Regions from separate parts of the Homo sapiens genome. Here all the other regions are linked to region 4. Evidence: promoter capture Hi-C in human tissues and cell types (Jung and others, 2019). All regions are on one chromosome and are shown on one strand. Each heading gives the region's core, a stretch centred on a gene start or on the middle of the fragment in contact. The rest is flanking DNA. Distances are from core to core; before and after follow the strand shown.

The links. Contacts are between HindIII fragments. The study calls those that stand out against the background at their distance.
Region 1: a fragment that was not itself captured here is called in contact with the fragment with the promoter of FGF9 in region 4 in 1 of the 25 tissues and cell types used here (dorsolateral prefrontal cortex).
Region 2: a contact is called between a fragment that was not itself captured here and the fragment with the promoter of FGF9 in region 4, in 1 of the 25 tissues and cell types used here (lymphoblastoid cells).
Region 3: a fragment that was not itself captured here is called in contact with the fragment with the promoter of FGF9 in region 4 in 1 of the 25 tissues and cell types used here (dorsolateral prefrontal cortex).
Region 5: a fragment that was not itself captured here is called in contact with the fragment with the promoter of FGF9 in region 4 in 1 of the 25 tissues and cell types used here (lymphoblastoid cells).
Region 6: a contact is called between a fragment that was not itself captured here and the fragment with the promoter of FGF9 in region 4, in 1 of the 25 tissues and cell types used here (lymphoblastoid cells).

The regions. Positions count from the first base shown.
Region 1 is chr13:23,389,866-23,393,433 of GRCh38, forward strand. The region is part of intron 2 of SACS (sacsin molecular chaperone); the gene reads right to left. Among named protein-coding and RNA genes, the nearest start is that of SACS-AS1, 27 kb to the right of the region's middle. The HindIII fragment of the contact is 6,594 bases long and covers 1-3,568 here.
Region 2 is chr13:22,869,332-22,872,711 of GRCh38, forward strand. No RefSeq gene overlaps it. Among named protein-coding and RNA genes, the nearest start is that of LINC00621, 45 kb to the right of the region's middle. The HindIII fragment of the contact is 9,156 bases long and covers 1-3,380 here.
Region 3 is chr13:22,916,702-22,919,911 of GRCh38, forward strand. It overlaps the pseudogene NUS1P2. Among named protein-coding and RNA genes, the nearest start is that of LINC00621, 1.9 kb to the left of the region's middle. The HindIII fragment of the contact is 8,694 bases long and covers 1-3,210 here.
Region 4 is chr13:21,669,259-21,672,692 of GRCh38, forward strand. FGF9 (fibroblast growth factor 9) reads left to right here and starts at 1,815. Exons shown (of 3, transcript NM_002010.3): 1 at 1,815-2,931. The coding sequence starts at 2,655. RefSeq lists silencers at 633-892, 1,673-1,722, 1,743-1,802. The HindIII fragment of the contact is 7,376 bases long and covers 1-3,434 here.
Region 5 is chr13:22,890,172-22,893,892 of GRCh38, forward strand. The region is part of intron 2 of LINC00621 (long intergenic non-protein coding RNA 621); the gene reads right to left. All of the region lies in intron 1 of LOC105370109 (a long non-coding RNA gene), which reads left to right. Among named protein-coding and RNA genes, the nearest start is that of LINC00621, 24 kb to the right of the region's middle. The HindIII fragment of the contact is 8,684 bases long and covers 1-3,721 here.
Region 6 is chr13:23,264,142-23,267,344 of GRCh38, forward strand. All of the region lies in intron 4 of SGCG (sarcoglycan gamma), which reads left to right. It also overlaps the pseudogene SDAD1P4. Among named protein-coding and RNA genes, the nearest start is that of SGCG, 85 kb to the left of the region's middle. The HindIII fragment of the contact is 3,385 bases long and covers 1-3,054 here.

The sequences.
Region 1 (3,568 bases), core at 360-2,859, 1.7 Mb after region 4:
AGGGAGCATTTTAATTTTACATCAAAATGTCAAGTTATTTGGCTGCATCTACATATGCCAGAAGTCACAATAATATGCGACCACTTTTATGCAGCTTTTCTGATATTTATATTTCCTACAATTATGGAGTTTTATATTTTCTACAAATTTTCAATGGATTTGGTTTTTTTTCTATTCACTCTACAAGGGTTTAAAAGTTATTCTTTCTACAGGGTATAGAATTTATTATTTCTATAGAACCTATTTTACTTGGTCTAGGAGCTTCTGTAGGCTTCAAACTGTGTTTGGCTCTGAAAAGAATTAGTGCTTTATTTCTGCAGTATTTTTCTTCTTACTACTGTTCTAAATCACAACATACTAGAAGTAAGAATAACTTATAGTAAAGGTTCACACATAGATCATTTTTCCTGATTAATTAAAAAAAAATCTTCAGTCTGTTTGACTCCAAGTTACCATTTCTACATGGGATTCCACCCCTAAGAGATTTAACAAATGAGATCATTTAAAATCCTGGCTGGGCACAATGGCTCACACTTGTAATCCCAGCACTTCGGGAAGCTGAGGTAGGCACATTGCTTGAGTTCAGGAGTCCTAGACCAGCCTGGGCAAGATGGCAAAACCTCGTCTCTACAAAAAATATAAAAATTAGCTGGGGGACTAATTTTATATTTAGTGTGTGGGGGCACACACCTATAGTCTCAGCTACTCAGAAAGCTGAGCTGGGAGGTCAAGGCTGCAGTAAGCCATGATCATACCACCACACTCCAGCCTGGGTGACAGAGTGAGACCTTGTCTCAGAAAAATAAATAAGAAGTAAATAAGTAAATAAAATCCTAATGTGTTATACTGGGTAATACATTTGTTTTATGTTATTCTCATGAAGAAGCTATCAGTTTGTTTTTCAGTGAAGGCAGCCATCCCTCGTCGTGTCTAAAGAGCACTGATTCCAGTGCCCGCAGATGTTAAGTAGCGAGCGTGTTCATGTGTTGTCATGCCCCTCATTCAGGTGTTTACACTGAGCTCGCTCTGGTGCTGCACACAGGAGTCCCTCCTTCTCCAGCCCAAACCTGCCCTGGGCCACTCTGGGCTTCTCCAGGTGACCACCATGCTGTCTGAGAAACACTACCACACGCCTGCACCCCTCAGTGCAGACGCCACCACAGGCCGTGCCTGGGGACCAGTGCAACACAGGGTCTCTGGGAATTGCTTTAAAATACCAACACAAGGAAAAAGGTCAATATAAACTCATGTGGCGGAATTTCAATCATTGTGGAATCTGCACACTGAGTTTGTGAATGCTCCCAGTGATATTTTTCTATACCTCTGTACATGCCTGAAATTTTTCATGATAAAATTCTTAAAAAGAGGTCAAGAGGCACGGAAGTCAGGCAAAGGATTACTGTCAATTCTGGGTGAAGGAGGTGAACATCCAAGCATCTTTCCACAGACTCCAAATGTCTTCCCTTTGCCCCTGAGGCTCTGCCCACCCAGCTCTCCGGCTCAGGTTGGCCTCTTTGGGCAACAGGGCTGTGGTCACTTTGGTTGCAGGTGGAGTTGGCCCATAAGGAGTCCCCACAGGAGCTGGGAGTAAGGAAGAGAGTACGGTCAGGGAATTCATGCCTCCTGCAGCGTCACCAGGGCCTGGTTATGTCCTTCAGCCCAAGGTCACTGTCCTTCTCAGGGAGCTTGCTCTACATCGGGACTCTGCGCCCTTCAAGGTTCAAGTAATTGCTCCTCCCCTAGTCCCTCGGGTCTAGAGGGTCATGATGCCACAGCTACTACTTTCCCCAAGTTCCAGGATGGCTTCTCATGGTTCCGTTTCCCCCTTTGCACATAAACCCATGATTGATCCTAATTGGACTGTGGGGTGCCTGACCGGTAGAATACTCCACACAGTATGATCGCCTATTCCATCCAGGAGGGAGAAAGGGAATCAAACTGACTGTGACAGGTACAGCATGCCAGATTGGCAGGAAAGTACTGCAAAGTGCCCATCAGTGTGGGTTCCCTCCTTTCCTCCCTGAGTTCCTTCATGTGCACATGGAACATGGATCCCTTACCCTTCAGAAGCTGACAGAGCCAACAATGAGTCACCTTTTGCAGACCAGATGCAGACTGCAAATACTCCAAGGAAGGGCTCAGAATCACGCATGCAGACTGACTTTCCTGTCTCCCAGGATGCAGTAAAATGGAGCCCGGAGCTGGGAGCTGAGGGAAACCAAGTCTACCGGGTCCCCCCAACTTGACGAGGACCTCAGACGGTCAGGAGGCATCCTGTTGCCTTTTGATGACTCTTTTCCTAAAGATACTGTGTGGTACTCATCAGGACTGTAACCGGGCCCTCTCTTTCCATCTTGCATTTCCTATGTAATGGCCAAAGACACTTGGTATGCCTCTCCCCAAAACAGACTATGGCATACTTGGACATATGGAGGGATGACAGTGGCAAAAAGAAAATCCCTGAAATCAACAAAGTGGGATTAGACAGCCAGGTTTGCAACTAACTGCTTATTAGGCTGAGACAGTGGTGGACAGCACCTTTCCTAGAACGCCTGTGAAATGACAGGCACTTTGGGGTGTGAGAGTCATTCACACACTTAGAAAATACAATGCCTCCAATGACTAGGCTTTGTGTTGTTTCTGGAGAAGGGAGTCATAACAACAATGGTTGCCTTTTCTCGAGCACTCATTCTGTGTCAGATACTATGTGAAGTGTTCTACATGCAAAATCCCTAACATTATTTCCTCATGATATGAAAAAAGTAACTGATTCAAGGCCACACGACTAGCAAATGGCAAAGCTGAGTCAAACCAAGGATGTCTGGCTTAAAAGTTTATGCTCTTTCCATTACACAATTTGTTTTCTCCTAAAGGAGGCGGAAGGATATTTGTTGAGAGTTTTGTTTCATTCGGATGCAGAGGTATCTAAGAAAAAGAGGAGGGAGAAGCCATAGAAGGGACAAGACAGGCCCTTCTCTCCCCTCTCCTGGCCACATGTGAAGGACGGGTTTTGAGCCTCTGAAAACATAAGATGAAGCCACAGTGTTCATGAAATACTGGGCAGGACTGAGTTCATGCATAGTCACCTCCCTCCCAGAAAACACAATAAGCACAGACATCGGGAGAGGCCATTCACCAACCCTCACCACCCCACCCACAAGTTGCAGTCACCTTGGGCTCACAGGGTAGTTGGGTGCAGGGCAGTAACGTCTTTCAGAGGGCACCAGCTGCAAAGCCACGGCAGGGCCCCTGGACCAACAGGCTCAAATGGAAAGAACATGAACAAACTTGTTCCTAAGCCCATGTGAGACGTCACCTCTCCAAGGACACCCAGAAATAGCTGGGGAAGAATTTAAGCAGATGAGAGAAGCATGGAGGTTAAGGTCTTGTCAAGCAAGTTTGGAGTTTGGAGCCATGGAGATATGTGTGTAAATATTCACTGACTTTATTTATCCTCATGAACTCCTGAAACCTAGGACAGGTGGAATATGGCTAATCCACTTGTTCCTTCTTTGGGCCCTGGCTCTGTTTCTGGGTTACTGGCACTAGGTCATGGCCCCAAGCCCAC
Region 2 (3,380 bases), core at 506-3,005, 1.2 Mb after region 4:
GAAAGATTTTAGTGTATCAGTTACTATTTATTGCCTACCTGACATTCAAAGCTGCTTCTTTCTTTCTGACATGATATTGATTTTTTTTTTAGGTATCCACCCTCCTTTATTTAACTCATGCTTGCTTCACAGATTCTAAAAGGCAGGTTTGGATTCCTTTTATGTGTTCATAAGGGCCCCACTCCCTTTGCAGCTAATTGATGTAGACAAGCAATTAAGTGGTTCTTGCTAAACAGATTTGAATGTTACTCTACTAAGAATCTTCTGAAAATGTATCTTCATTCTTTTTTTTTTTTTTTTTTTTTTTTTTTTTGAGACAGAGTCTTGCTCTATCGCCCAGGCTGGAGTGCAGTGGCACAATCTCCACTCACTGCAAGCTCCGCCTCCCGGGTTCACACCATTCTCCTGCCTCAGCCTCCCAAGTAGCTGGGACTACAGGTGACTGCCACCACACCCGGCTAATTTTTTTGTGTGTGTTTTTAGTAGAGATGGGGTTTACCATGTTAGCCAGGATGGTCTTGATCTCCTGACCTCATGATCCGCCTGCCTTGGCCTCCCAAAGTGCTGGGATTACAGACGTGAGCCACTGTACCTGGCCCCCAGTATCTTCATTCTTAAGAAGGTACATTATTTTATTTTTTGCCTATCAATGCTTCCTAGCCTGGAGGATATGAAAATATATCTAAATCAACTGCAAGGACCATGCCACCTTTAGAGAGTGATCTAGAAGATCAAGCCCACACATTGAGTTTGGCAGAGAAGAAAGAGGGCCTTAGCCTTACTGAACTGCTGGACTTAAAAAACCTTGGACCTAACCTGCCTTTGCACTTATTTTGACATTTACTTTCCTATTAATCCAGTTGATTTTTTTTAACTTACAATGTAGATATATAGATGATACATAAATCACTTTAAATGACAGGTTAGAAAACATTTACTTCAAGTAGCCATATTATATGGTGAATACTGTCAAAAGATTCAAAATCATTATGTGATGGGCCTGGCCAAGACAATGGTATGCATCAGGGATCTGGAAGAACCAGCACATTCAAATTGGGCAGGCTGAGACCAGCTTACAAAGGTCTGGGTAGGATGCAGGGAATTCCCAAGTGATATGGTTCGGCTGTGTCCTCACCCAAATCTTATCTTGCATTGTAGCTCTCATAATCCCTGTGTGTCATGGGAGGGACCCAGTGGGAGGTATCTGAATCATGGGGGCAGGTTTTTCCCATGTCGTTCTCATGATAGTGAATGTCTCACTAGATTGGATGGTTTTATAAAGGGCAGTTCCCCTACACATGGTCTCTTGCCTGCCGCCGTGTAAGACATACCTTTGTTCCTCCTTCACCTTCCTCCATGATTATGAGGCTTCCCCCGCCATGTGGAACTGTGATTCCATTAAACCTCTTTTTCTTTATAAATTACCCAGTCTCGAGGTATGTCTTAATGCAGTGTGAGAATGAACTAATATAGTAAACTGGTACCAGTAGAGTGTGGTGCCGCTGTAAAGATACCCAAAATGTGGAAGTGAATTTGGAACTAGGTAACAGGCAGAGGGTGGAATAGTTTGGAGGGCTCAGAAGAAGAAAGGAAAATGTGGGAAAGTTTGGAACTTCCTAGAGACTGTTGAATGGCTTTGACCAAAATGTTGATAGTGATATGCACAATAAAGTCCAGGCTGAGGTGGTCTCAGATGGAGATGAGGAACTTGTTGGGAACTGGAGTAAAGGTCACTCTTGCTATGCAAAGAGACTGGTGACATTTTGCCCCTGCCCTAGAGATCTGTGGAACTTTGAACTTGAGAGAGATGATTTAAAGTATCTGGTAGAAGAAATTTCAAAGTGGCAAAGTGTTCAAGATGAAGCAGAGCTTAAAAGTTTGAAAAATTTGCAGCCTGACAATGCAGCACAAAAGCAAAACCCATTTTCTGAGGATAAATTCAAGCCAGCTGCAGAAATTTGCATAAGTAACAAGGAGCCAAATGCTAATCACCAAGACAATGGGGAAAATATTTCCAGGGCAAGTCAGAGACCTTTGCAACAGCCCCTACCATCACAGGCCCAGAGGCCTGGGAGGGAAAATGGTTTCCTGGGCTGGGTCCAGGGCCCGCCTGCTGTGTGCAGCCTTTAGACTTGGTGCCCTGCATCCCAGCTGCTCCAGCCATGGCTAAAAGGGCCAAGGTACAGCCCAGGCCGTGGATTCAGAGGGTGCAAGCCCTAAGCTTTGGCAGCTTCCACATGGTGTGTTGAGCCTGTAGGTGCATAGCAGTCAAGAATTGAAGTTTGGAAACCTCTGCCTAGATTTCAGAGGATGTATGGAAATGCCTGGATGTCCAGACAGAGGTGTGCTGCAGGGGCAGAGCCTTCATGGAGAACCTCTGCTAGGGCAGTGTGGAAGGGAAATGTGGGGTGGAAGCCCCTATACAGAGTCTCCATTGGGCACTGCCTAGTGGAGCTGTGAGAAGAGGGCCACTGTCCTCCAGACCCCAGAATGGTCGATCCACTGACAGTTTGCACCATGAACCTGGAAAAGCCACAGCCACTCAATGCCAGCCCGCGAAAGCAGCTGGGAGGGGAGCTGTGCCCTGCAAAGTCACAAGGATGGAGCTACCCAAGACCATGGGAACCCACCTCTTGCATCAATGTGACCTGGATGTGAGACATGGAGTCAAAAGAGATCATTTTGGAGCTTTAAGATTTGACTGCCCTGCTGGATTTTAGACTTGCATGGGGCCTGGAGCCCCTTTGTTTTGGCCAATTTCTCTTATTTGGAATGGGAATATTTATTCAATGCCTGTACCCCCATTGTATATAGAAAATAACTAACTTGCTTTTGATTTTACAGACTCATAGGCGAAAGGGACTTGCCTTGTCTCAGATGAGACTTTGGACTTGGACTTTTGGGTTAATGTTGAAATGAGTTAAGACATTGGAGGACTGTTGGGAAGGCATGATTGTATTTTGAAATGTGAGGACATGACATTTGGGAGGGGCCCAGGGAAGAATGATATGGTTTGGCTATGCCCTTCCCCCAAAATCTCATCTTGAATTGCAGCTCCCATAATCCCCATGTGTCATGGGAGGGATTCAGTGGGAAGTAATTGAATCATGCGGGCGGGTTTTTCCCATGCTGTTCTCATGATAGTGAATAAGTCTCATGAGATCTGATGGTTTTATAAAGGGCAATTCCCCTGCACATGCTCTCTGTCTTGCCACCATGTAAGATGTGCCTTTGATCCTCCTTCACCTTCCTCCATGATTGTGAGGTCTCCCCAGCCATATGTAACAGTGAGTCCATTAAACCTCTTTTTCTTTATACATTACCCAGTCTCAGATATATCTTTATTAGCAGCCTAAGAATGGACTAATACACCAAGAGAG
Region 3 (3,210 bases), core at 450-2,949, 1.2 Mb after region 4:
ACACATGTGCACGTTTGTATGTGTGGAAATAAACATAAATGGGGACGTGTTGGAGAAGGAAATACATAGACCTACAACTTTGAGCATATAGCAGTGATGTTTTAGGAACTGAAATGTCACACTTAATAAAGTCTTCAGCCCAGCTACTTCCCTGTTTTCGTGGGGAGAAGGGGGCCTGATTAGAACTGTTCTGGTTGTGTTTGGCGGGAGGGGAATAAATTTTGTTCAGTCCTTCTTAGTGACCAAACTTTAATTTTTAGGAATAACATATTGACTTACTGAACTGAAGCATTCTGAGTTGAAAGGAGCCCCAGAGGAAAGGAGTTCTGTGTTGCTCACATGTTAAAAGCTTGCTCACCTTCAGAGCAGAGGGAATACCTATCTTCAGATATCCGCCCATTTTCATCTCTTCATTATAGTCAAACAGTGTGACTTGAGAGTGTTGCTCTGGTGTCTGTATTCTGGCTTATGAAGATTATTTGAAAAAGAACTCTTACTACATTGAAATGCAGACTTTTAAAAATTTAAATATTGGATTAGGCAGTCAAAAAACCAAACAAGCATAAAAGGTCAGTAAGTTGTAATCTTAAAAGTAAAGGTGGAAAACTCATTATAAATGGAAGAAAAGTTTTGATTTCCTTTTTTGTTTGATGGGCAGTATGCCATATTATATCCAAAGTTGGTTTAAAAAATACTTCCATCAACTATTTTTATTTAAAATAAACATTTGAGGGAAGTTACCAAGGCAGCTTTTTTCCTCAAAAGTAACCTGTTCCTCTTTGGAACAGCACATTTTAGGGGCATGGTTAATACCTGAGATTTTTACTCAGTAAACCTGATGGTTACCGTGTGTAAAATATCTTTAAGTAGGATTGAAGGCCTCTGTGGGGAATATAATGTTACCAAAGCCTATAAAAATAAATTTTACATGTTCTTTTTTATGACAGAGAGCAGCACTGGTTCTGTTATTTTTTAAAATGAATAACTGATTTCTTGACAGGTGTTTAGTATTTCTTCCCTCACTGCTGATTCTTGGATAGAAACCATTCTTTGTATTTGATAGACTGTTTTCAGAAAACTCTTATCAACAAGTGTACAATAGTTATCTAAAACTGTACATTTAGAATGGAGCAGTTTAATACTAGATCTCAGAAATTTGAAAAATAGCAAAGAAGAGTGGATTTGGAAAGCATGGTCTACAATTGCTTGTCAATTCTGAAGCTATGAAGAATAAATGTTTCAGCTTTGGATTATGAAACCCCGTTTATGATTTTTAAAACACACTTGAAATAAAAATGATTGAACTAAATTTTGGTCCGGTGACATCATTTTGCACTGCATAGCCCATTATACATTGTAAGTCTTTTTGTTTTAATTTATTACTGAGAGTTTTCTGTGAAGCTACAGCATATCTAATCAGAGAATTTCTGATTTGTTTCCTTATACTGTGATTATGTTATATTAAGGCATTTGTAGTGCAGCTTAAGACTGAATTTATGCTTTTTGTAAACATGATCGGTGTAAATGTCTTATAAACATTCTGGAGTATGTATAACTTTAATGAATGAAATTTAATGGACCTGATTAAAATAAAGGGATTTAATCTTTGTTAAAGTGAAGTTAGTGGAATAAATTACCTACTGGAATATAGTCCAAGTCACTAAAGGTTTAATATTTGCATTTTTGTGCTTTTATTTTCTCCTTCCATTCATAATTATATACTTGAAAGTACATCTGTAGCCTATGACTTGAGTCTCTTGAACTTCTAGGAAGAGGCAAACTACAAACTACTAGGATTCTGATTTCAGATATAGGCATTCCAGAATCTTCTCTTTACGAGTTCACCTGCTAGTATAATCTCCACAACTTGAATGGCCTTGGTTGTTCTGTAATTGCTGCCAAAATCATCACAAGCTGTACGTCATCAAGGCTCCCTTTGCACTCCCAAGAAGAACTGTTCATTTTAAACAAAAGTGTATGTCTTTATTTGTATTGGAAAATATTGTCTTTAAATTGTTTCTTGTTGACACTTCCCACAATGGAAAAATTACCAAATTAAACCTGTTTTATGGATGGCAGCTTGGAGCATAGCAAGAAGTTGGAGGATTTGAATTCCATTCCCAGTTCTCATTGCGTTTTGTTTCTTAAAACTATAATAATTGGTTACTGTTATAAAGTTTAAAAGGTGGTTTTAATATGAATAGCAAATTCTGGTATATTGTGACTAACGCTTAAGAATGCCTGTCTTTGAGAGGAAGGTGTTATAATATTAATCAACAGTGCCAAATACACTGTGCATATCTACAATTTAATCTTTGAATGTTTGTTACTGGATTAGCTCCCTCCTCCTTCTGTGTGATGGTACCATGCATAGAGTCAATCAAATCCTTGTGATGTTTTGTATGGACTTTGACAACATGTAACTAATGTGTAAAGCAAGTTTTTATGATTAAGGAATCAAATTTATTGAATTTTATTATTGAAAGTTGAAACTTAACATGTATAAACAAAAAACAATAAAATAATAAACTATTTTCATTGACTATAAAAATTATTTATTTTTAAAAATTCATACATAATACTGTATGTATTTGTGGGGTACGTATTGGTGTTTCTATACATACAATGTATAGTAATCAGATCAGGGATATTAGCATATCTGCCATCTGAAATATTGATCATTTTTTGTGTTGGGAGAATTCAATGTCCTCTTTTAGCTATTTGAAAATATATATTCTTGACTACAGTCATCCTACAGTGCTATAAAACATTAGAACTTATTCCACCTAACTGTAATTTTTTGTCCTTTAACAAATCTCTCCCTATATCCCCCTTCCCTTTCCACCCTTGAATAACCTGGATTCTACTCTTTACTTCTATGAGATCAACTATTTTAGCTTCTATATATGAGTGAGAACATGTTTAACTTCCTGTTCCTGGCTCATTTCACTTAACACCATTTCCTCCAGGCTCATCCATGTTTCCATGGAGGACAAGAATTCATTCTTTTTATTGCTGAATAGTATTCCACTGTGTGTGTGTGTGTGTGTGTGTGTGTGTGTGTAGGTGTGTGTATGTGTGTGTATAAAATCATATTTTCTTTAGCCATTCATCTGTTGATGGAGACTTGGGTTGACTCCATAGCTTGGCTATTGTGAATAGTGCTGCAATGGACATGGAGTATGGACAACTCTTGGATGTACTGATTTT
Region 4 (3,434 bases), core at 565-3,064:
GCAGTTAACGTTAAAGCCCGCTCTGTACCACCGCGGATGTGACTGCTGTAAATACCACGGGGCAGGGCTCTCATGCTTCAGAAACACGTAAGCAAGACGCACCGAGCCAGCCCCGGACACCCAATGACCCTGGACTGCGGCAAAGGGGGGGTGGGAAAGGAAGAGGGGAGGACCACTCGCTCTTCTCTCCTTCCTCCTCGCCCGGGCCGGAGCACGCCTTCCTCCCCGGAGGGCAGGGGAAGGTCGCTCCAGGTCGCTGGCACCTCCAGCGCCCCCGAAATCTGCAAATTCATCGCTCCCTTTCGTCTTCAGGCGAAGCCCTCCCGTCCGGAGTAGGGCCAGCCCCAGTTATGCATCTCCAGCCTTTAGCTGACTACTAAGGCGGATCCGACTTCTCCCCCATAACCAGGTTTTGATTCGCTTCCCCACCGCAGGGGTTCAGTCTCTGCTTTCGACTTTGCTTCTCAGTTGCACGCCCCGCAGTGTGGAGCTGCGCTCAAGTCTCGGCAACTTTCACCATCTTGACCCGAGAGTCGGGCCGTTTCTAAGACAATGTGAACAAAGAGGAGCAGGGGGAGGGAAGGGGGGCCCCGCGGGAGGGCTGTGGGCGAGTGTGTGTGTGTGTGTGTGTGTGTGTGTGTGTGTGTGTGTGTTGGGGGGCGCCGCGCTCCGCGCCCGCCGCCACTGGGGATCCGGGCGCAGGCAGGCTGTCCCGGGCGCAGAGCGCGCCGCCTCCAGTCTCTCTGGCGGGCCCGGCCCGGCAGGGCCCCTGGCGGCCCCCGGAGGCGGGTTTCTTTGTCCCTGACTCCCGCTGGGCGCGAAGGCCGCCGGCGGCTAACAGAAACCCGAGCCCGCGCAACGGAGCTCAGGCTTCCACGTGCGGCCCCGCAGGGCAGAGCAGGAAGGAGCGGCTGCAGCCCCGGGGCGCCCCGCAAGCATCCAGTGCCCGGCCCTCCCAGCTCCGCGGCGGGCTTCGGACGGTGGAGTGAGACACCAGAACTCGCCTTTCGCTTCCCCGAGCCGATGCACGGCTTGGGATGGCGCCGCTCGTCCTAAGCAGCGTGGTTTGAGGGCGAGAAGACGCCTACTGGAGCGCTCCCCTCCACCCAGACTCCCGAAGACGCGCGCCCGAGTCGAAGTCGGGGACAGAGAAGGTTCTCTGGCGCCCCCCTGCCGACTGCTTTGCGGCCGCCGGGACCCGAGCAGCGGGGCGGGACCTAAACATAGCCCCAACCCAAAGATGCCCAGCAGAACGCTCCAAACAAAACAGAAACGGTGGCCGCATCTGCGTGTGTGTGTGTGTGTGTGTGTGTGACGGGGGAGAGGAGTTGATCTTACCTGAAACATAGTTTGCGCTTCTGTGTGTGTGGCCGAAGAATGGAAGAGAAACTGCCATGGCCATCCGAGTCCATTAAATCAACTCCCCTTCCCTCCGACTCTCTCAACTCAGTCATATTCTATAATACAACGCAAGGTTACAGAGCCCCAGTGAAAACTAGTTTCCCAGTTTCACTCTGACCCTCCATCAATGTAGCCAGCCAGCTAGATTGTAGGTTACCGGCTTCTATTCTGCAGGAGAACTTTGAGTCTCGGGAGACTCAGGGTTTCTTCCTCCCGCCTCTCGCAGTGCATCTTTCATTTGCTTTTCTTTGTAAAGCCAGGGCTCCTCGACTGCCTCCCAGGAAGTCCTGCGCTCTGGCGCGCCGCACCTCGCCTGCCGCAGAGCGGCGCGGGCAGTAAGCCGGGCGCTAGGACCGCGGGGAGCCCGGGCTGCGGCGGCGCTACCTTAAACCCAGCCCAATGCCGCTGCCTGCGCCACTCTGCGCGCCGGCGGGGGCTGCGCAGGAGGAGCGCTCCGCCCGGCTACAACGCTCCGCGAGCCGGCGCGGCAACACCTGTTCGCGGCAGCCTGGGCGGCACGCGAGCTCCCGGACGCGGCTCTCCTCGCTCGCCGCTCGCCACCCGTTCTAAGCCAATGGACATCTGCCGAGCCTCTGGAGAATCCTGGATACTAGCTTTGGACGCCTAAAGTTTCTTCTTCTTTTTGTTTTATTATTATTATCATTTTTTGGAGGGGGGACCGGGAGGGGAGATTTGTCGCCGCCACCAACGTGAGATTTTTTTTTCCCCTTGAAGGATTCATGCTGATGTCTGCAGAGTCGGTTAGAGAGTAAAAACAGCGCATGCCTTCCTGGAGTCAGGATCCGTAAATTCTGACGTAGCCCGTGCATCTTAAAAATCCCTATAATAACGCCTAGGCATTTAAGTTGCTATGGTCATTCTGATCTCAAACCAAATGGAGAAACTACGGATTTTTTTTCCTTATTACGGTCGGATGGGATGAAGACCTTCCTGCCTGCTAAGAGCTGGGGATCTATCTATAGAGATACATAGATATGTTTATCAATATGTCAGTGTGTGAGTATAAAGTGGTGGTTTCTTAGACTATCAGTGGTTTGACCTTGAACCTGTGCCAGTGAAACAGCAGATTACTTTTATTTATGCATTTAATGGATTGAAGAAAAGAACCTTTTTTTTCTCTCTCTCTCTGCAACTGCAGTAAGGGAGGGGAGTTGGATATACCTCGCCTAATATCTCCTGGGTTGACACCATCATTATTGTTTATTCTTGTGCTCCAAAAGCCGAGTCCTCTGATGGCTCCCTTAGGTGAAGTTGGGAACTATTTCGGTGTGCAGGATGCGGTACCGTTTGGGAATGTGCCCGTGTTGCCGGTGGACAGCCCGGTTTTGTTAAGTGACCACCTGGGTCAGTCCGAAGCAGGGGGGCTCCCCAGGGGACCCGCAGTCACGGACTTGGATCATTTAAAGGGGATTCTCAGGCGGAGGCAGCTATACTGCAGGACTGGATTTCACTTAGAAATCTTCCCCAATGGTACTATCCAGGGAACCAGGAAAGACCACAGCCGATTTGGTAGGTATACCATTAACCCTTTAGTGTCCATGAGATGACATGTTGAAATTATAACTACCAAGAAGGTGGTGGCCGGGTGGGGGACGTGGGAAGGGTTCTCCCCTCCTCCCCTCTTTCTCTGTATCTCTGTCTCTCTCTCTCTCTGTCTTGCCAGCTCCGAAAAAAAAATGCCTCCGGAATTGCAGATCTGCTGCTGGCACTGATGCAAGTATACACTGAAAGGCCCCCTACTTTTAATTTAAAGGGGGGCATAATTTATAAATATAATACAAGTTTCCAGTTCTTTTGCATCAGATACACGGGTTTAGGAAGTTTCTTTTGAATGGACTGATTGCACGAGTTTAAAGCTTTAATCATTAACTACTAAGAACTTAATGCAGTTTCTTGAAGGCAGTGGGTATCTTGTGCCCAAATTAAGGTTTTTTTCCTTTCCCCCTTTCCTCTAGTAAGTATACTACTTGAATTGTATATTAAGTGCATTGTTTATTCTCCCCTGTGAGGGT
Region 5 (3,721 bases), core at 1,041-3,540, 1.2 Mb after region 4:
CACTGCAAGCTCTGCCTCCCGGGTTCATGCCATTCTCCTGCCTCAGCCTCCCAAGTAGCTGGGACTACAGACACCCCGCCACCACGCCTGGCTAATTTTTTGTATTTTTAGTAGAAACAGGGTTTGACCATGTTAGCCAGGATGGTCTCGATCTCCTGATCTCGTGATCCACCTGCCTCAGCCTCCCAAAGTGCTGGGATTACAGGCGTGAGCCACTATGCCTGGCTGGTTATAATTTTTCAATAGCAGTTTCATAACTTTAAATTCATGACTATTACAGTATTCATAAATAATCTAGGTAAATAATTAAAATAGATAATTAGGCAAATGTAATGGGAAAAATACTTGTAGACAAACTGGTCATAATTTAGAATATAAAGTTATATTAAATTAAATAATAGATGTTTCATTACTTGGGTATTTTCCAATAAATATATATTGCAGGAAAACATTCTTGCTAAAAAAAAAAAACAAAAACAGAGAAGTGTGTCCTTTTAAAAAGAAAAGTGAAAAATTTATGTCTAATTCAAAGCTTATTTAAACATTATGTATAAAACAAGGTAAATGGAACCAGGAAATAAAAAATATGTAAAGAAAGTTGTAAAAATAAAGAGGTATTTTTCTGAGGTAAAAAAAGCTTGAAGAAAAATAATTTTATATAAGAAAAAAAGTCTTGTGCCAGGCACCAAATACCCGGCATCATAATTGTTATGTTAAAATTATTGTGTGCCACAGAGGCAACAAATTTCCTTGTCAATTGTGCCTTTCGACTATGGCTGCCTTAAAACTTTTTTTTTCAGCCGGGCTGGTGGCTTACGCCTGTAATCCCTGTACTTTGGGAGGCTGAGACAGGCGATCACGAGGTCAGGAGATCAAGACCATCCTGACTAACACGGTGAAAACCTCATCTCTACTAAAAATAGAAAAAAATTAGCTTGGCATGGTGGCGGGTGCCTGTAGTCCCAGCTACTCAGGAGGCTGAGGCAGGAGAATGGGGTGAACCTGGGAGGCAGAGCTTGCAGTGAGCAGAGATCACACCACTGCACTCCAGCCTGGGCGACTCAGGGAGCCTCCGTCTCAAAAACAACTTTTTTTCATCCATGGACAATTGTTGTCTTGTTTTGGTCCTCTTTAGGAGGTGGTTTTATAATCAGCTATAAAACTCCAATAGGTGCTCTTGAATGCAGGTTTCTGATAACTTTGGAGATTGTGACAACAGAATAGAGGAAGAACCTTCAGGACTCATGGAGAGCTAAATGTTCATGAGTATCAAGCAGGAATTAACAGGAATTAACTGCATGGACTGAACCAATCTTTTTTACTTTTTGCTCAAAATATTTGCTGGTCCTTTGTTTTGCGTTTCCGAGTCTTATGACTTTTCTTTTGAGCTACTGACAGATTTTAACAATTTAGTATACTCCTATGAACAAAATTTGTGGCATAGTTGTTTCTATCTGATTTATCCAGAATTTGGAAACTATTTGTGAGTATTCTTAACTTATGGCAATACAGTTATTTGCATAAGTGCAGTAAGAATCTGTTTTCATTTGTAACAGGACACATTTGGAGAATTTGGTTATTTTACCAAGGCTTTGACTGGAATCATGTGCTTTCCTTATAAGGAATCAAACTTGACTTACGGAGCCAATAAAGCCCTTGGAAAAACTGGCCTCATATTCTGTATACACAGTCCCTGAACAGGGTTTCTGACTGTGTAAGTAAAGAATATCACTTTTTGACAAGTGCAGACGCCCCAGGTTTATCTTGGGCCCTCAAAAGGAGAGGAAATTTCACCCAACTCATGGGTATTTAATGGCATAAATCCATGGCTCGGCTGGGTTTTACGGGTTTTACAAAGTCTTATCTGAGATTCCTGCTATGGAACAAAGTTCCATCAGAGCCTACTTAAAAGCCTAAGTAAAAAATAATCATTCTTGCTGCATTGTATACAAATAGTTAGGCCAAGTATAATAAACAAACCAATCCTACCATGATTTGTCTTTAGTAATATGCGAAACTGAAGAGAGAAAAACAAATTATCTTCTAAAACAATTGTACACCTGTTGTTAGAGTCTAGTCTTGCCTATTTTTTTTCAATTTTTATTATTTTTCTAGAGTTTGGACTGAATTCTAATTTTTCTTGGCTACAAGCCTTCAAAATAATGTTTTCAATTTTTTTCCTTCTTTTTTTTTTCTCAATTTTTCCCAATTTGGAGTCACTGAAAACTAAGCTATGCTTTCTAAAAACCCTGGGAACTGAAGCCAGACAACTTAAACTTCAGAAAAATATAACATAACCTATTTACGTACATAAGCCACTTTCATACCTGCCTACTATTATGGACTGCAGAGTAATGTGGCCTATATCAATTTTTTCAGGATTGTTCTTTTGTTTGTTGTTTTTTTCATCCCTTCCTCCCCCATATTTTCTCTTCACAGGACATGAGACTTCACAACCTGCTAAAAATGAACTTTCCAGACCTACCAATCTAGGAATAAACCGTCCTAGCCAGGAAAGGTCAGATGACCTTTCCTGAGACTGGAGACTCATTCTGTTGTAAAAATGCTTTCTCCAAAGATGTTAAAAAAGAAAAGGGGAAAATGTGAAAGAAAAATATCTTGGGTCCCTTCAAGATGGGAACTGCTCAGGGCAAATCTGCCTTCTATTCTATTCAAGTCATCCATTTGCTCACAGAGACAGATGCATATTCTGATTGCCTCCTTTGGAAAGACTTATCAGAAACTCAAAAGAATGCAACCATCTGTCTCTCACCTACCTGTTACTTCGAAGCCCCCAATAGGGGGTCTTGCTTTGAGCTGTCTCCGCCTTTCCGGACGGAACTAATGTACTTCTTACATAGTGATTGATGTCTCATGTCTCCCTAAAATGTATAAAACCAAGCTGTGGCCGGACCACCTTGGGCACATGTCATCAGGACTTCTTGAGGCTATGTCACTGGGCATGTCTTCAACCTTGGCAAAATAAACTTTCTAAATTAATTGAGACCTGTCTCAAATTTTGGGGGTTCACAGGTGAGTGGGCTCAGGCATGTGCACTAGTATGACTAAAGGTCATAGACTATTAGACTATTAGTCTATGACCTTCCTCTAGAAACACTCGACTGGTAAGGGAAGAATGCCTCAACTGAGCATGTGCACAACTCCCATAAACACACTTGTGCTTGCGGAGCCTCTCAAGTGCTGGCAGGCCACTGCTCAGGTGGATTCTTCCCTCCTACCCGGAGGGAAGAATCAGGGGAGAAGGGACACAAGCCCCTGAATGCATGCCAACACGTAAAACCTCAAATCAAAACTCAAACCATGCAGTTTAACCTCTCAAGTTGCCCACTTGGCCCTCTTCCAAGTGTACTTTACTTCCTTTCATTCCTGCTCTAATACTGTTTAGTACATTTTCACTCCTGCTCTAAAACTTGCCTCAGTCTCTCACTGTGCCTTATGCCCCTCAGCTGAATTCTTTCTTCTGAGCAGGCAGGAATTGAGGTTGCTGCAGACGTGTATGCATTTGCCACCAGTAACATACTTTGGTGCCACATGACTAGGATATGTTCTCTAGTGCTAACATGTTCGTTTACAGTTCTTAGGACTCCCTGATAGAAAAAAACACAAAAAAAAACACAAAAAAACCCAACCAACCAAACAAACAAACAAAAAAAAAACACAGGAGTTTCTCCCAAAAAGAAGTCTGCAGTGTCTTTTCTGT
Region 6 (3,203 bases), core at 112-2,611, 1.6 Mb after region 4:
CTCTGTTTGCCAATGATGCGATCTTATAGCTAGAAAACCCTACACACTCCTCCAGAAGACTCCTAGATTTGATGAATGAATTCAGTAAAGTCTCAGGTTACAAAAATAAATGTACACAAATTAGTAGCACTGCTATACACCAACAGCAACCAAGCCGAGAATCCAATCAAGAAGTCAATTCATTTTACAATGGTTACAAAAAAAAAATACCGAGAAATATACTTAACCAAGGAGATGAAAGATCTCTGCAAGGATAACTACAAAACATTGCTGAAAGAAATCATAGATGATGCAAGCAAATTGAAATACATCTCATATTCATGTATTAGAAGAATCAATATTGCAAAATGACCATACTGACCAAAGCAGTCTACAAATTCAATGCAATTTCTATTAAAATACCAGCATCATTCTTACAGAATTAGGAAATATAATCCTAAAATTCATACGGAACCAAAAAAGTGCCTGAATAGCCAAATACATCCTAAGCAAAAAGAATAAATCTAAAAATATCACATTACCGGACTTCAAATTATACTACAAGGCTGTAGTAACCCAAACAGCATGGTAGTGGTATAAAAGTAGATACATAGATCAATGGATCAGAATAGAGAACCCAGAAATAAAGTGAAGTACTTACAACTAATTGATCTTTGACAAACCATACAAAAACATAAACTGGGGAAAACACATCCTATTCAATAAATGGTGCTGGGAAAATTGGATTGCCTAGGTCGTGTAGAAGAATGAAACTGGATTTCTACTCTCACCATATACAAAAATTAGCTCTAGATGGGTTTAAGACTTAAATCTAAGACTTGAAATCATAAAAATTCTAGAAGAAAATCTATAGAAAACTCTTCTGGACAATGATTTAGGTGACTAAAACCTCAATAGTAAATGCAACAAAAGCAAAAATAAATGGAACCTAATTAAACTAAAAAACTTCTGCACAGCAAAATAAATACTCATCAGAGTAAACAGACAGCCTATAGAATGGGAGAAAATATGTACTAATTATGCATCTGACAAAGGACTAATATCTAACTTGGGAAAAAAGATTTTTAAAAAAGTTAATATCTGGAATCTACGAGGAAATAAAACAGATCAGCAAGAAAAAAAAAATGAATAATATCATTAAAAAGTAGGCAAAGGGGCCGGGCACAGTGGCTCATGCCTGTAATCCCAGCACTTTGGGAATCCGAAGCAGGAGGATCACGAGGTCAAAACATCAAGACCATCCTGGCCAACATGGTGAAACCCTGTTTCTACTAAAAATACAAAAGTTAGCTGGGTGCAGTTGCACGCACCTGTAGTCCCAGCTACTCAGGAGGCTGAGGCAGGAGAATTCGCTTGAACCTGGGAGGTGGAGGTTGCAGTGAGCCAAGATTGTGCCACTGCACTCCAGCCTGGAGACAGAGTGAGACTCCGTCTCAAAAAAAATAAATAAATAAAATAAGTAGGCAAAAGACATTAATAGACATTTCTCAAAAGAAGATACAAAAATAGCCAACAAATATGAAAATACACTCCATACCACTAGTCATCAGGGAAATGCAAATTAAGACCACAATGAGATACCACCTTATGCCAGCCGGAATGGCCATTATGAAAAAGTCAAAAAACAATAGATGTTGATACGAATGTGGTGAAAAAGGAATGCTTAGACACTGCTGATGGGAATGTAAAATTAGTAGAACCTCTATGGAAAACAGTATGGAGATTTCTCAAAGAACTAAAAGTAGATTTAACCTAGCAATCCCACTGCTGGGTATCTACCCAAAGGAAAAGAAGTCATTATATCAAAAAGACACCTGCACACACATGTTTATCACAGCACAATTCAAAATCACAAAGATATAAAATCAACCTAAATGCCCATCAAACAATGTGTGGATAAAGAATATGTGATATACCTGAGGTCAGGAGTTCGAGACCAGCCTGGACAACATGTTGAAACCCCATCTCTACCAAAAATACAAAAATTAGGTATGGTGGCAGGCGCCTGTAATCCCAGCTACTCAAGAGGCTGAGGCAGGAGAATTGCTTGAACCTGGGAGGTGGAGGTTGCAGTGAGCCGAGATCACGCCACTGCACTCCAGCCTGGGCAACAGAGCAAGACTCTGTCTCAAAAAAAAAAAAAGTGCTATATCACATATATATATATGATATATGTAATTGTGGTGTGTGGATATATACACCATGGAAATATATTCAGCCATGAAAAAGAGTGATATAATGTCTTTTGCAGTGACTTGGATGGAATTGGAGGCCATTATTTTATGTGAAGTAACACTCAGGAATCAAAAATCGAATGCCACATGTTCTCACTTATAAGTGGGAATTAAGCTATGGGTATGCGAAGGCATACAGAGTGGTAAAATGAGCGTTGGAGGCTCAGAAGAGGGGAAAGTGGAGGGTGAGAAGTGGGTGAGAGATGAAAAACTACCTATTGGGTACTATGTACACTACTTGGGTGATGAGTGCACTAAAATCCTAGACATCACAACTATACACACATAACCAAAAACCATTTGTACACCTAAAGCTATTGAAATAAAAGAATAGTAAATAAATAAATTTAAATTCTCTCTTCTCTCTTCTCTCTCTCTTGCTTCTGTTCTTGCCATAAGATATACCTGCTCCCTCTTTTCCTTACACCATGATTGGAAGCTTCCTGAGGCCGTCACCAGAAGTAGATGCTGGCATCATGCTTGTACACCCTGCAGAACCATGAGCCAGTTAAATACCTTTTCTTTGTAAATTACCCAGCCTCAGGAATTTCTTTGTAGCAATGCAATAATGAACTAACACAAATTCCAAAGAAAGTCAAACATTGAAAAGCAAGCACTAGTAACTAGCATTTCAAATCTGTGAAATAAAAGATACCAAATTATAAACAACAGTGGAATCTTACCACTGATAAATACAGCTCTGGTTACTGTTGTTCACTTTCTTTCTATTTCCAATAAGAAAAATCAATTTTGTTAAACTTAAATATGAGACACACCCAGAAAGATGCAAGTTGTGCCCACACAAGTTGATGAAGTTTGGCAGTTGGGTTTTCTGAGACCCACTGAGCCAGGCTGCAGCTAATTTGTCCCAACTGCCTAGCAGCCTGATGCACGAACAGAATCTGATCCACCAGGACCACTGGCCTCTACTCTGAGGAGTGTCTACAGGAGCATGGTCACTACAGACCT